Regions from separate parts of the Homo sapiens genome. Here region 1 is linked to region 2. Evidence: promoter capture Hi-C in 16 types of primary human blood cells and fetal thymus (Javierre and others, 2016). All regions are on one chromosome and are shown on one strand. The core of a region is centred on a gene start or on the middle of the fragment in contact, and the rest is flanking DNA. Distances in the headings are between cores, read along the strand shown.

Evidence for each region. The method cuts DNA at HindIII sites, captures the fragments that hold promoters and counts their contacts. A CHiCAGO score of 5 or more calls a contact.
Region 1: a fragment that was not itself captured here is called in contact with the fragment with the promoter of LINC00449 in region 2 in 2 of 17 cell types (fetal thymus and naive B cells); the score reaches 11.9 in fetal thymus.

The regions. Positions count from the first base shown.
Region 1 is chr13:97,428,437-97,431,136 of GRCh38, reverse strand. No RefSeq gene overlaps it. Among named protein-coding and RNA genes, the nearest start is that of RAP2A, 4.4 kb to the left of the region's middle. The HindIII fragment of the contact is 3,897 bases long and covers 1-2,700 here.
Region 2 is chr13:99,499,746-99,502,445 of GRCh38, reverse strand. It overlaps LINC00449 (long intergenic non-protein coding RNA 449), which reads left to right and starts at 1,383. Exons shown (of 2, transcript NR_133664.1): 1 at 1,383-2,051; 2 at 2,506-2,700. TM9SF2 (transmembrane 9 superfamily member 2) reads right to left here and starts at 974. Exons shown (of 17, transcript NM_004800.3): 1 at 669-974. The coding sequence starts at 839. RefSeq lists enhancers at 594-1,182, 1,089-1,268. The HindIII fragment of the contact is 1,300 bases long and covers 540-1,839 here.

The DNA.
Region 1 (2,700 bases), core at 162-2,661, 2.1 Mb after region 2:
TGGGTGAAAGATTAGCTGCTATAAAAAGGATGTCAGGACGTGTAGAGAATTTAGAGGACTTGGGTGGGAGATGGATGTCTATTTTCTAACCCCTTAGTCATGTTCATTCCGATGCCAGCATAAACTCTATTTTGAGATGATTATAGAAATAACTTATATCTTCATTTGTTTGTGGGAAATAAAAAATAAAAATGATATAAAAGAAATTTGAATTATTCCCAAGAGCTGTAAATCTGTAAGATAGTGAAAACTTAACGCAGTAACTGACACTGCAGGATCCCTTTAGTTTCCAAAGTGCATTGCCAGGAGAATAAAAAGAAAGAAAATCTTCATTTCTCCTCTCTCCACTAAATCTGAAAGGGAGTTATCTCACCTATAGCCAGATACCTTCAATTATCGCACTTGTGTTACCGTGGAAACCCAAGTCCATCCTTTCTTTCTGTAAAAGGTGTTGGAAAAGGTGGTATGAAGTGGGAAAGGTACTGTATTCTGGGACTTCCTGACACCAGCAAGAAGCAAATATGCAGATAATTTAATAGAAACAAATTAGTAGAGGATGTTTGTAATGCGAGGGGTACTTTTCGACTGTAAAACCCTGATTCCTAATGCTTCTTATTAAAGCCTGCATGCCTCTGATTAAACATAAAGGGGAAGGGCATGTCAAGTACATTTAGCACCTGTGAAACGCTGCTGGCAAGTATAAGGAGAGCAGACGATGGTTTCTTGACCTGTGAGGCTCCTAATACAGTTGAGAATCTGCAGTATATATGTGGAGTGGAAAGGAAGGGGCAAAATAAACTTTGTTCTTCCTTTAAAAAATGTGATATGTCTCAGTGCTTTTGAAAAGAAAAGGAATTAGAATGCAGAAATTAAGAGTATGGAAACAACTCAATAAAAGAAACGTATGGGTGGAGAGAGTAGATGTTTCAAAAGGCCATTTTAATCAGAAAAAAAATCTGAAAGAAAAGACGTAATGATTAAAATGTAGGCAGAAAAAAGAAAAAGCCTGAAGAATCTTAAGAGCTAGAGGATTCTGCGGAAAACAGAGCTTCAGTGTGGTTCATTTAACAAAGCAGAAGAGCAGGCACAGTGTTGCTTGCGTACCCAGCAGTTTCCCTTTATTTTTGCCAAAGAAGCTGGGATGAATCAGGATTGGACTTTAATAGCATTGCTTTCCCTCTGCCCACGGTTAGTCCAAAAGTAGGCACGTGACTCAGTTCTTGTCATTGGAATGGGGAGAAGGCTGCTAGGGCTGGAGGGATTTCTAGGATATTGACAAGAGTGAGGAAATATCCCCGTTTTCTGATGTCGCTCTCTTTGCTTCCTGCTTTACACATTGAAATATGAGAATGTGGCCTCCATTTGGGGGCTATGATGCATTATGACATTATGGTGCAATACTGTAGAAAGCCAGCAACTTCGGATGGCCAGGGAGGAGGATGGGAAGAACCTAGGTCCTGCATGACAACATTGGACAGTCAAACCAACATTAGAACTGCCCACATTTGGACTTATGGCTAAGTAAACAGCTGGTGTCTTTCAATTTAAGTGTGTGTTGGTAAGGTTTTCTGCATCTTACAGCAAAATACATCCCACCTGTTAACAAAAAGTATGAGGGATTCCAGCCAAAATCGGGCTTTAAAAAATCAGCAAGCATTTGTGAGCACTTTCATTTCACTAATATCTGAACGATAGTTCAAAGATACTATAATATTAATTGAGTAATTACTGTGTATATTTTTTAGGCTCTGGGGATAAAACAATAAGCAATTAGCCAAAAGAGCTTGTATTCTAGCAGGAGAGACAGATATTAAGCAACCAATTACATGTTTATATTATAAAATAATGGTTATGCTTAAAACTAATAAGGAAAAATCAGGAATTAGAAAGGGTATATAGTAATTATATAAATAATAAAATATTACAAAATATATAACTAAATAACTGAATGAAATTACAAAAACAAACACTTTCCAAGTAAATGAGAATGAAATGTATAGTTTTTACTGACATTCCCAGAGGTCGAGAGAAACAGTAAATTGGAGTAGGTTAGTCCAGGAGAGTTGTCTGAAGCAAATTAATATTGTATCAGGTTTTGAAGGAAGTGGCGAAAGGACAGGCTAGATGGGGCAGAAGAGAGCACTCTAGATGTAAGGAACCAGAAGAGCAAAGGAAGAAAGCAGGAATGAAGTAAGAGTGAATGAGGGAAATACCAGAATCACTTGATTTTTTAAATTCCCTGTAGCAACAGCATTCTAGGGGCATCTCTCAGAGAAAAAGACAGAAAGATGCCAGAAGTCTCAAAGCAAGATTATTTAAAGGTATAAAAATAATATAGGAGAAAAATACAGAAGACAAAGTAGGAGTACAAGAGTGCATTTGAAATTAAGGCGTCATTCAAAATAATGAATAATTTATAATGTGGGCGTCAAAAGAGTTGTCATAAGAAGTAATTATGGATTTAAGGGCATCAAGAAGGAGGGATTCAAACTTTCACAAATAGAAATAGAAGGAAACATGAGGAGTGGCAAAAAATGAAGACAGGTAGAAAAACAGTTTTTGCTTGTTATTTTTCCATGATAGCTGTTATTGACATGCATTATGTAGAAATGAATGGAATTTGTTTGAAAAGAAAAATTTCAATAGAGCAGTAATACATAAAGGTAGGCTTTTTGGTAAATAGTGTAATTTAAAATGTTT
Region 2 (2,700 bases), core at 134-2,633:
TCTTTTACACTTAAAACTCAGAAATCAAGTGCCTCAACCATTACAGCAACTCTTTATTAATGCACTTTGTGTGGCTCTGGGTGTTATACTCCACAAATAAGGAACCAACTTCTAATTGTGAAGCGAGATATCAAAGTCCTAGAAAGAACAAGCTCTCCTAACCAACTAGAAGGTTCCAGGAAAATGCAATTAAACAGGAAGCAATGAAGTTAAAAGCTAATGGAAACTGTTAACTAGGCTGAGTGTTGCTCACATGTAGGGAGTCGGTCACCCGCTTCCTCAGCGTACATGTTACAGGGCTGTGAGCGAACACTCACGCGTGGACCTGCATACATCCAACTCCAAAGCTCTGAGGCGTGAAGCCCAACTCCAAGGGCGCTCCACACGGTCCCTGTTCCAGGAAAACTGAATACAGCTGCTCGTGCCACTTGGCCCGCAAGACGGGAGGCGAGTCTGAGGCCCACTGCGTCCTCCAGAAACTACCCTTGCAAGGGCTGTTTCAGAGCCCCCCACCCACAGCCCAGCAGACCCCAAAAGCTTCTGGGGAAACTCAACCCCACCCGCTGCTACGCCCCCTTCCCTCGCTCCCACCCGAGGATCAGCTCCCCCGGATAGGGACGACTTCCCCTTCCAACAGTGCATCAGAGGGCTCGTCAGGCCTCACCCACCTTGCACTCGTCGCTCTTTTTTTCTTCGTCGCAGAAGTTGACGGGCGCCAGGCCGGGCAGGTAGAAAGCGCCGCTCCGGCGCGGGCCAGGAACCGCCCCCAGCAGGAGCAGCGACAGCAGCAACAGCCGCGGCCACCGAGGTGGAGACAACACCGGCAGCCTCGCGCTCATGATAGTTGTTTCGGGGAAAGGGCAATCAAACCTAGGGGGTCAAGAGGGAAGGAGGGGTGGGGAGTCTCGGAGACGACTACAAGGCCGCCAGAGATAAAGGAAGCCGGCCCCCAGAAGGCTAGTTCCGGTTGCGCTAGGAGACACCCCGGGTCCCGCAACAGAAACCGAAGCGGACCGCAACAGAGCATGCGCACCGCCGTCTGCACATGCTCAGTGAGAACGGTCGCAGGCACCAGGAGGAGTTTCCGGGAGGGAGCGGGGGCGAAATCCACTTTCCGGGTTTTCCGCGCGCCAGCTGAGGTGGTTGCTGGGAGAGGTGGTTGCTGGGAGAGCTGTTCCGGCGCTCACGTTCCAATTCCAAATTACAAATTCCGATCTAGAGCTCCCACGCTTGGGGGCTGTGGAGCGCTCGCCAGCCGCTCCCCGTTTGCTGCTGGGTCTTACGAAGTTCTCATATCCATCATACAGTTTCTTTGTCACACTGTCCGCGGCACGCCAGTCCCTATGACAGAAAGCACCTGCGGTCTGTCTGGAGGCGGAGTTGGTGGCGGAGAGAAAAAGTTCTGGAGACACCTGGTTGGGAGCAGGCTAAGGAAACAAATGGGGAGGAATTAGCCACAAATCCTCAAATAGACAGCTACTCAAAGGCATCTTCACGGACAATTTCCAAGCATTGGATGCAGTGGTGCATTCTTGCATTGGGCAGTGATTGTGTGCACACATCTCTTTAAGGGAGAGTGGAAATGGGGTGAGGAGGAAAATGGGAGTAGGATAGAGTGTAGCGTTGACATTTATTTTCTTTAAAGGAAGACCCGAGCATACCTGAGAGCTCAGTGAAGAAAGTAGTTCTGGCGAATCGGATTAATATGGTATGATCAGCCTTTAGCAAGATTCTATCACTTTTCCCACTGATGATGTGAGACGGTGTCCGCGTGTGTAAGTGCACACACGTGTGTGTGTGTGTGTGTTGCATCTTCTGAGTATTTTTCAAGGAGAAGCTTTTTAGTGATCTGAAAAAGTCAATTCAGTTAGCCACTAGAGTTCAATCAAAAACTTCGGAAGAGTGCATCATCTTAAAGTACATAAGAGAGAATCATGACCTCCAGCTCAGAATTCAAGAATAGGCAGGTTTGTGAAATAGTAAGCTCAGAAAGTTGAGGGCCAGTGAACTCCTATTTCAAGTTCTTGCGGGTGTTTGTACTTTTTTCCCAGGTAAGGTTTATAACTTTCATCAGATTTTCAAAGGGACCTAGGACCCTGCAAATTGATCCATATAGTGGGGTAGCCAAGTTAATCAAGAGAACTGGGAAGTAGAAAAGAACGTTCATCTTAAGGTTGTTGTGAAGATTAAATCAAAAATGGAGGGAAAGTGCTGAGCACATAGCTTGGCCCAAGGAATGGCACTTTTTTTTTTTTTTTTGATAACAAAAACTAATCTGGTAGGGCCTGAGCAGAAAATTGTGCCTAGGTGGCTTCCCTTTCATGTCCTCTCCCTCAAATAAATCAACATATTCGCTGAACTTTGGGATAGGGAAAAATTGTAAAATATTCTGTATTTGGAAGTCATGGAGATTTCCAATATAACAAAAGGAAGCAGACGTTTTCTCCAAATATTAAGAGGAGGAAACAAAAATTAACATTTTTGCTCACTATCTTCTTTTCCTAGCACCACTGAAACTTGACCTTCGGCCGGCGCGGTGGCTCACGCCTGTAATCCCAGCACTTTGGGAGGCCGAGATGGGCGGATCACGAGGTCAGAAGATCGAGACCATCCTGGCTAACACGGTGAAACCCCGTCTCTACTAAAAATACAAAAAAATTAGCCGAGCGTGGTGGCGGGCTCCTGTAGTCCCAGCTACTT